Regions from separate parts of the Homo sapiens genome. Here region 2 is linked to region 1. The links are contacts of gene promoters, found by promoter capture Hi-C in blood cells and fetal thymus (Javierre and others, 2016). All regions are on one chromosome and are shown on one strand. Each heading gives the region's core, a stretch centred on a gene start or on the middle of the fragment in contact. The rest is flanking DNA. Distances are from core to core; before and after follow the strand shown.

Region 1 (5,063 bases), core at 860-3,359:
ACACTGCAGGGCGGCAAGGTGGAGACCTGGAGGGAGAGGAGGAGCTCGGATCAGGGTGGTGGCAGGGAGGCAGGGAGACTTGAGGGGATCTCCGATATACAGTCTTCGATTTAGGACAATTTCCACCTACAGGATTTTTCAACTACAAAACCAGTATGCATTCTGCACGCTTCTTGACTCATGATGGGGCTACATCTGGGTAAGCCCATAGTAAGTTGAAAATACCATAAGTCAAAAACGTACTTTCGAGTCACAATATTTTCAACTTAAGATGGGTTTATGTGGATGTAGTTCCATCTGAAGTTGAGGAGCATCTGTATTGTAAAGACAGTAATGGCAGGATTTGTGGGTGGTCCAGGATGCTCCCAGGCTCTGTCCCTGAGCAACCAGGAAGATGGAGTTGCCATTTTGGAGACGAAGAACCTACCAAGGTGTGGGTTTGGAATCAGGAGTTCTGCTTTGAAAGTGAAGTCTCACCGTGACTCATAATTTGTGACATTTCCAAACCTTAATTTGCCTATAGAACTTTTCTTTTTCCAGAGCCTCTATCCAGACTACTTATTATTTATCAAAATAAATTAGATAAATAAATAACTTAATTTTAGAATTCATCTTCCAGATATACTTTACACAGATCATTCCAATAAAGGCAGGTTGGGGCCCGGGACAGTGGCTCACCCCTGTAATCCCAGCACTTTGGGAGGCCGAGGCAGGAGGATCACTTGAGGCCAGGAGTTTGAGACCAATCTGGGCAACATAGTGAGACCCTCCCCCTAGACCCCATCTCTACCAAAAAAAAAAAAATTAATTGGCTGGGCTTGGTGGCTGGCACCTGTGGTCCCAGCTACTGGGGAGGCTGAGGTGAGAGCATCGCCTGACGCCAGGAGATCGAGGCTGCAGTGAGCTGTGATCTCGCTACTGCGCTCCAGCCTGGGTGACAGAGTGAAACCCTGTCTTTAAAAAAAAAAAAAAAAAAACAGCAGGTTGGGAAAATCTACAAGGAACAAGGGCAATGTGTGTATGTTATTTAAAATAAGATCATAAAACGTATTTTAAACCTTCCATAATCCTAATGCTCTAACAAATAAATTAGTTGGCCGAGCGTGAAGAGTCACACCTGTAATCCCAGCATTTTGGGAGGCCGAGGGAGGCGGACCACCTAAGGTCAGGAGTTCAAGACTAGCCTGGTTAACACGGTGAAACCCCCGTCTCTACTAAAAATATAGAAATCTTTGGGAGGCCAAGGCGGGCGGATCACGAGGTCAGGAGATCGAGACCATCCTGGCTAACACGGTGAAGCCCCGTCTCTACTAAAAAAATACAAAAAATTAGCCCGCGTGGTGGCAAGCGCCTATAGTCCCAGCTACTTGGGAGGCTGAGGCGAGATCATCGCTTGAACCCGGGAGGCGGAGGTTGCAGTGAGCCGAGATTGCGCCACTGCACTTCAGCCTGGGCAACAGAGTGAGACTCCGCCTCAAAAAAAAAAAAAAAAATATATATATATATGTATACACACACATATATATACATACACATATAAATTAGCTGGGCGTGGTGGCGCACGCCTGTAATCCCAGCTATTTAGGAGGCTGAGGCAGGCGAATTGCTTGAACCTGGGAGGCGGAGGTTTCAGTGAGCCGAGATCACACCACTGCACTCCAGCCTGGGCGACAAGAGTAAAACTCTGTCTCAAAATAAATAAATAAATAAATAAATAAATAACTTAATTTTAGAATTCATCTTCCAAATATATTTTACACAGATCATTCATTCATTCCACAGATTTTTTTACAGCATCGAAAAGAAGCCTGCTATACACACATCGGTACATTTTTATTATTTTAATTATTAACAGCATAAATGTTTTCATGCCAGTTTTCATAATCATTGTAATGATAATTGTCATGATTGTCTCTCCGTGGCGGGGAAGAATCTGGGTGCAGGGCTTGGGGATCCCTGCGGTCCGCGGCGTGCAAGTGCCACTCCCTGGGGTGCTCCCGGAATCCGCGAGCCACGGAACCTAAGAACGCCGACCCGCCGGAGCCGGAGGGCAGACGCTGGCACACCGGACGCGGGGACGCCAGAAGCGGCTGGACCCGGAAATAGGGGTTGTCGGTAGCCGCCCCGGGAACAAGGACCGGAGCTGGATCCGCGGTGCGGCTGTGGGTGAGCGGCGGGCTGCGGGACCCTCGCCCGGCGGCTCAGAAAGGCGGGAAGCGCACGCATTTTTCTGGCTTGTTTCCTGAACGTTGGCCGGCGGAGGACCCGCGAGCTCGGGAGAGCGCCCGGGCCGGGCTCTGCATTCTTGTTGCCTCTTCCCTGGCGGGGGTGATACTCTCCCGCGGGGCTTGCTGTGGGGGTTCAGGGAGGTGGAGATGGGCCCGCCATGTGCCTGCAGGGAGCAGGCGCTGTGGTTAATACTTTTCTTCTTCGAACCCTCCCACAGCTCTTTAGGGTGAGATCTGCTGTACCAGTCTCACAGGTAGGGAAACTGAGGCTCAGGGAAGCTGTGCAGCCACCGGGGCCCAGATCGGTGCGGTACACACCCAGGCAGCTTCCACTCGCCGCCCCCTAGGCCCTGGCTGGGTTTTGAGGGCACCCAGGTTCTCTGACCTGTTATCTGTAAATGAAGTAGGGTACTTTTGTGAACAAATTAGCTGGAATCCAGGGGCAATAATTTCTCGCAGAAGTGAAAGGTAAGATGTTCCTAGTCTTGCCTTTTTATCTTCTCACCTTTTGAAACAGGACCTGAGAGGCCAGCCTAACTTGGGCTTGATGGCCAGCCAGTCCTGGGATTCTTTTGCCAAGGTCACCTGACACTAGTGTGACTTGTTCTGAACCTCCATTTACTCACAGTTTTAAAAAATTACAACACCTGCCTTATGGGGTTGCTGGCGAGATTGAATAGTGTTGATAGCTATGGTGTGCCTACTACAAAGGAGGAGCTTAAGAAATGGTTGTTTCCCTCTTTTCCTGATTCTAGAAGCATTTGGTAAAGTTACTGAGGTGGTAAATCCTAGGAATTTTAATGCTATTCAGACCACTGCTAGGCCTACTCCCAGGCCACATCTGCTTGTTTCTTTTTTTGTTTGTTTTGTTGCAGGCAGAGTCTCACTCTGTCACCCAGGCTGGAGTGCAGTGGCGCGATCTCAGCTCACTGCAACCTCCGCCCCCGGGTTCAAGTGATTCTCCTGCCTCAGCCTCCTGAGTAGCTGGGATTACAGGCATGCGCCACCACGCCCAGCTAATTTTTGTATTTTTAGTAGAGACCAGGCTTCACCATGTTGGCCAGGCTGGTCTTGAACTGCTGACCTCGGGTGATCCACCTGCCTCAGCCTCGCAAAGTATTTGCTCACTGTCTATTTACCGTGAGAATGCACAAAGCAAAACCCGTGTTCTCCTGCTGCTTACTTACTTTCTAGGAGCTGTAAGACAAGAGCTGAATAAGTAGATGGAAGCTGTACCAAGTGTAGTGATGAGTGCTACAAGGAAGCAAAGCTGGGCTGCTGTTCCATCAGAGTGCTCACAGAGGCAGGACAGGATCAGGCTTGGGGCACGGGTTCTAGAACAACCAAGTCCAGCCACTGGAGCTCTGGTCTCTCTGACCCCACAGTCCCAGTCTAGGCCAATAAAATGGCAGCACCTATTAGCATCCCTGCCTAGGATGCTGGCAGGACTGCCTGGTCCCTGGTGTGTCCTCATTATGTCATACATAATTGCTGACTACTCTGTGGCATAGACATGAGAAAATCTGAGGAAACATTTTAGGACAAAATTTCCTACTTTGGAAGAGATGGGAAACTCAGACCCTCACAGAACAATGCCCCTCTGCTGCGAGTTTTCCCTTTTGGCCTCTGGCTTCCCAGGGTGAGAGAAGGGGAGTCCCTAAATCTCTTTTAAACCTCACTTCTGGGCCTCTGATTTTGGTAGAATCAAAACTTCCCCAGAACGGAGAGCAGAGGCCAGTCATAATCACCTTGGTTGTTCATTCATTCCCTCAGCAGGCATTTAGTGCATGCTGGGTGCCAGAAATATGGCAATGAACCTGACAATTGTGGGAGAGACAGACTGCTGACGCCAGATGCAGTCTTCAGGAGGGGAGGGGCAGGGGTCAGAGCAAGTAGACTAAGGGGGAAAAGTGGCCTAGGCCGAAGCCTGCTGGCGCACAGGGAGGAAAGGTGGGTGCGCAGCAGAGCCTTGGGAGATGCAGCTGGAGCTGTCATGGGCCAGAGAGCTCATCTGCAGACAGTGTCGTCATTCCACAAGGCCTCGGCTCTTTCACTGTGGGATGGTTGTACATTTAAGGGGAACATCCACTTACTTATTTTGAGGAAAAAAGCAAATTGTCATTTTATTTGGGACAGCTTTCTGGTCAAGATTACTGATTTCACTGTAGTCCTGTGATCTCTTAAGTGGGGAACAAGGTTGACAGCCCAAGGCCGACCTTGGACCTCTTCCCCTGCACAGCATGATGAGCAGCAGAAGCCCCTTTAGTGAGGGAGTTCCTTTGGCATCCTTTCTGAACAATGCCCTTTACAACCCTCCTTTATTTTTCTGGTTTTATTGTAAAGTCCCTTGTCTTAGTTCTTGTCCCTCAGTCACCTGTGTCCAGGCGCTAAATGTAAAAGGTGCAAAAGGGAATGTGGTGAGGAGGCACCCCCAGCCCTGACCTCCAGGCCCTAACACCCACTCCAGGTGATTGCTTGGACTGTTTGTTTTGCGTTCCATCCAGACATATCGCCTCTTCATAATCAAGTGCACACGTGTGCACACATATGTGTGATCACAGATGGCAGTGCTCTCTACACACCGTTACATGCCCAGCTTTCTTAGCATGATTTATTTCAGTGATCTGATCCACGTTAGTATGTACCAAGCAGATGCTTTCCTTTGTAATGCTGCCAGGTGCTCTACTGTAGAGAATGCCATGCTTTTTTTTTTTTTTTTTTTTTTTGGAGATGGAGTCTCACTCTGTCGCCCAGGCTGGAGTGCAGTGGCGCAATCTCGGCTCACTGCAAGCTCCGCTTCCCGGGTTCACACCATTCTCCTGCCTCAGCCTCCCG
Region 2 (4,970 bases), core at 1,870-4,369, 270 kb after region 1:
TATGATCACTGCTCTGTGGGGTGGGGACCAGCCTTAGAGTTCTCATCGGAAGCCCGGGGTGGCTGGATGGGGGCAGATGTTTTCAGGGCAAGAGCGGCTTGGCTCGCCTCTCTGGTTTCTGGTTTCCCCAGATGGTGCCTGGCGGCTCCTCACTGTCTTGTCAGCCCCTGGATGCCTTTAAGAAAACATCCTTTTATTTTGTCAGCATTTTTGGTACTTCTCAGTGGGAGGGCTGGTCCAAGTATTTGGCTTATCATAGTTTTACAAAAAGTTGGTTTCTATGAAATCTTAAGTCACCTCTTTTTTAAAAATGTAACTTTTAGTCTGGGCGCGGTGGCTCACTCCTGTAATCCCAGCACTCTGGGAAGCCGGGGCAGGCAGATCACTTGAGGCCAGGAATTTGAGACCAGCCTGGACAACATGGTGAAACCCCATCTCTACTAAAAATACAAAAATTAGTCAGGTGTAGGGCCAGGCGCAGTGGCTCACGCCTGTAATCCCAGCACTTTGGGAGGCCAAGGCAGGTGGATCAACTCAGGTTGGGAGTTTGAGACCAGCCTGACCAACATGGAGAAACCCCGTCTTTACTAAAAATACAAAATTAGCTGGGTGTGGTGGCGCATGCCTGTAATCCCAGTGCTCGTGAGGCTGAGACAGGAGAATCACTTGAACCCGGGAGGTGGAGGTTGTGGTGAGCCAAGATCGTGCCATTGCACTCCAGCCTGGGCAATAAGAGCGAAACTCTGTCTCAAAAAAAAAAAAAAAAAAAGAAAAGAAAAAGAAAAATTAGGTGTGGTGGCACGTGCCAGTAGTCCCAGCTACTCAGGAGGCTGAGGCAGGAGAATCACTTGAACCCGGGAGGCGGAGGTTGCAGTGAGCGCAGATGGTGCCATCGCACTCCAGCCTGGGCGACAGAGATTCCATCTCAAAAAAATAAAAAAAATAAAAAATCTACCTTTTATGTTTTTTATTTGAACTATACATAGTAAGCAGCGTGGGGTTTTTTTGTTTGTTTGTTTGTTGTTGTTGTTTTTTCTTGAGATGGAGTCTCACTCTGTCTCCAGGCTGGAGTGCAGTGGTGCAATCTCGGCTCACTGCAGCCTCCGCCTCCCGGGTTCAAGTGATTCTCCTGCTTCAGCCTCCCGAGTAGCTGGTACTACAGGCGCACGCCACCACGCCCAGCTAATATTTGTATTTTTAATAGAGACGGGGTTTTCACCATGTTGGCCAGGATGGTCTCGAACTCCTGACCTGGCGATCTGCCCGCCTCAGCCTCCCAAAGTGCTGGGATTACAGATGTGAGCCACCACACCCAGCCTTAATAGTTTTTTTGTCTAGTTACACTTTTTCTTTTAGAGAACTTGAAACCCATTAATGCACATGTACATACATAATCCACACATATATGTATATGTATGTGTGTGTGTGTATATGGCATATCCATTTATCCACATACTATACATACATGCCTTACACTATAGTTTCCTGAAGCTTACATCACAGGCACAGTCATGTCCACATTCCAGTAATGCTTATCATTCCACGACCGATATGGCTTAATGTATGCTTTAGTTTTCAGAATATATCACTTACTCCTACGAATCAGTAAGGAAAGGACCAGCAGCTAATAGAAAATGTGACAAAGATTTGAAAAGGAGGAATCATAAAAGGTGCCCACCTGTATGGTCAGGTTGAAGCAAATTAAAGCCACAATGAGATGCTGCTGCCTTATACCTGCCAGGCAGCAGAAGTGTTAAAATTTGACCATATCAAGTTGGCGGGATAAAGATCAGCAGGGACTCATGTTCGCTGCTGGCAGGATGACCTTGTCACCGGCACTTGGGAGGTGCTGCTGTGTGCACGGGCATCTGCTCCTGGGATTGTTCCAACGAAACACCTGCCTGTGCGGCTCAGGAGAGGTGACAGCGACAGCAGCACCATTTAGTAGCCAGCCTGGGAGCCGATACACATCCACACCCCGTCAGTGGCTGCATGCAGTGTATCTGACGGGACACCAGGTGAAGGGGGCCCAGCTGCACATGGGGACAGAGGCAGACTTGGCTGCACGTCAGCAGAGAAGTCTCACAGCATCGTCGGTGTCAAGTTCAAAACACGGAACACGCAGCAGTGTGGCTCAGGGCCACACACGGGGCACAGCCATCAGGACAAGCAAAGACCAAGAAGCACCAAGTCCAAGTTAGGCAGCATCTCAGGCCGGGGCACCAAGGAAGGGCACAGCAGCGCCGTGGTGACCGGGTCCCAGTACCATCCTGGGTGGCCGCCACCGGCCGTTTGTGTCTTCCGTTCACACGATTACAAACGCTGCGTTCTGCCCACACACATCTTCAGTCCCAGATGTGAGAAGGTGACCCTCTAATGCAGGCGTGCCTGCGCAGGTGGGGGGCAGACGCCGTCCTGGGTGTCATCCCATGGAAGGGCACAGGACAGGCTGCTGCCGGAGCAGAGGTCACATGGGGTGGGGGGCGGTGGGGGGTGCATCTCAGGAGGAGCAGGTGTGAGGACACTGCTGGCGCTTGGCTCTTCTTCCCAGCCCCGTGCTCTCGAATTTGGGGAAACCCTTGCTCTTCTGTTTGGCCTGAAAGAAAATCCGGTGTGCCTGACTCTCTGCAGGCCCCTTGTCACAGGCCAGGCTGGGGTGGTGCCACCAGGAAAACTTGGCGCACGTCCTGTTGCTGATGATGGCAGCATCAGTCATGGACTTAACCTTCTTTTGTTAATGAGACCTTAGAAATGTAAAAATGATACACTCTTCTTTAAAATAATTGTAGTCAGTACACATAACTCTTACCATCTTAACCATTTCTAAGTGTACAGTTCAGTGACATTAAATATATTCACATTTTTGTACAGCCATCGCCACCCTCCAACCTCCAGAATTCTTCATGTTGCAAAACTGAAACACTGCACCCATGAAGCGGGGACTCCCCTGCCCCTGGCAGCTCTTTCTGTCTCTGAGTCCCACTACTCTAAGTACCTCATACAATATTTGTCCTTTGTGACTGGCTTACTTCACTGAGCATAGTGTCCTCAGGGTTCCTCCATGCTGTAGCTGTGACAGGAGCCCCCTCCTGTTAAAGGCTGGATAACATTCCACTGTATGCAGACGCCACATTTTGATCATGAGAATGCCCGTTTGTGGAGGGACACACTGTTGCTTCCCCCTCGTGGCTGTTGTGGATAATGTCGCTGTGAGCATGGGTGTGCAGACATGGCTTTGAGACCCTGTTTTCAGTTCTCGTGGATTTATACCCAGCAGTGGAATTGCTGGAGCCCATGGTAATTCTATATTTCGTTTTTTGAGGAATTACCATACTGTTTCCCATAGTGCCTCCAGCATTTTACATTTTTACCCTCAATGCACAAGGCTCCAATTCCTCCACATCCTCACCAACGCTTATTTTCCGTGTGTGCGCGTTGATAGTAGCCGTCCTAGAGGGTGTGTGGTGGTGTCTCAACGTGGTCCTTGTCTGCCTCCCTCAGGATCAGTGACATGGAGCACCTTTTCACGTGCTTGTGGGCCATCTGTATATCTTCTTCGGAGAAATGTTTATATAAGTCCTTTGTCCATTTTTAATCAGATTGGGGTTGTTTTGTTGAGTTGTAGGAGTTTCTTAAATATATTCTAATAACTATATAGAATATAGATATATAGGTCCTTTGTCCATTTTTTAATCAGATTGTGTTTCTTTTTGCTGAGTTTTTTTTAACATATTCTAACAACTAGAATATATAGAGAATATAGATACATAGGTCCTTTATCCATTTTCCTTTTTTTTTTTTTTTTGAGATGTAGTCTCACTCTGTCGCCCAGGCTGGAGTGCAGTGATATGGTCTCGGCTCACTGCAACCGCTGCCTCCTGGGTTCAAGCAATTCTGCTGCCTCGGCCTCCCAAGTAGCTGGGACTACAAGCACCCGCCACCACGCCCGGCTAATTTTTTGTATTTTTAGTAGAGACGGGGTTTCGCCATGTTGACTAGGGTGGTCTCGATCTCCTGACCTAGTGATCCACCTTCTTCGGCCTCCCATAATGCTGGGATTACAGGCGTGAGCCACCACGCCGGGCCCATACCCGGCCCTTTATCCATTTTTTAACCTGTTTGTTTGATTTGCTGAGTTGTAGTTGTTTTTTTTTTTTTTTTTTACATATTCCAATAACTAGGATATATAGAGAATATGGATATATAGAGAATATGTATAGAGAGAATATAGAATATATGTATTCTAGATATTAACACCTTATCAGGTATATGATTTAAAAATATTTTCCCTCATTCTCTGGGTTGCCTCTGTTGATAGTATCCTTTGAAGCACAAAAGTTTTTATTTATTTATTTAGAGACAGGGTTTCACTCTGTTGCTCAGGCTGGAGTGCAGTTGGACGATCTCAGCTCACTTGAGCCTCAACTTCCCAGGCTCAAGCCATCCTCCCACCTCAGCTATCCCAAGTAGCTGGGACCACAGGCACAGGGACCACACCCAGCTAATTTTGTGTATTTTTAGTTGAGATGAGGTATTGCTTTGTTGCCCAGGCTGGTTTTGAGTTCCTGGGCTCAAGTGGTCCACCCACCTCAGCCTCCCAAAGTGCTGGGACCACAGGCGTGAGCACTGCACCGAGCCAGAAGTTTTGAATTTTTACGAAGTCTAATGTGTCTGTTTTTCTTTTGCTGCCCATGCTTTTGGTATCGTATCCAAGAGATGATTGCCACATCCAATGTCATGAAGCTTTTCCCCTGTGTTTCCTTCTAAGAGTTTTATAGTCTTAGCTCTCACATTTAGGTCTTTTATTTTGAGTTAATTTGTATACGGTGTTAGGTAAGAGTCCAACTTTATATTTTTGCAGGTGGATATCCAGTTGTTGTGACACCATTTGTTGAAAGACTGTCCTTTCCCCATTGAATGGTCTTGACACCCTGTTGAAGATCATGTGACCATACATAAGGGTTTATTTC

Evidence for each region. The method cuts DNA at HindIII sites, captures the fragments that hold promoters and counts their contacts. A CHiCAGO score of 5 or more calls a contact.
Region 2: a fragment that was not itself captured here is called in contact with the fragment with the promoter of TOP3B in region 1 in 2 of 17 cell types (M0 macrophages and M1 macrophages); the score reaches 7.3 in M0 macrophages.

What each region holds. Positions count from the first base shown.
Region 1 is chr22:21,979,833-21,984,895 of GRCh38, reverse strand. It overlaps TOP3B (DNA topoisomerase III beta), which reads left to right and starts at 2,109. Exons shown (of 18, transcript NM_001282112.2): 1 at 2,109-2,166. RefSeq lists enhancers at 1,930-2,224, 1,722-2,708. The HindIII fragment of the contact is 18,886 bases long and covers 1-5,063 here.
Region 2 is chr22:21,711,561-21,716,530 of GRCh38, reverse strand. The region is part of intron 1 of YPEL1 (yippee like 1); the gene reads left to right. Among named protein-coding and RNA genes, the nearest start is that of YPEL1, 22 kb to the left of the region's middle. RefSeq lists a silencer at 2,504-2,662 and an enhancer at 2,871-2,920. The HindIII fragment of the contact is 3,252 bases long and covers 1,494-4,745 here.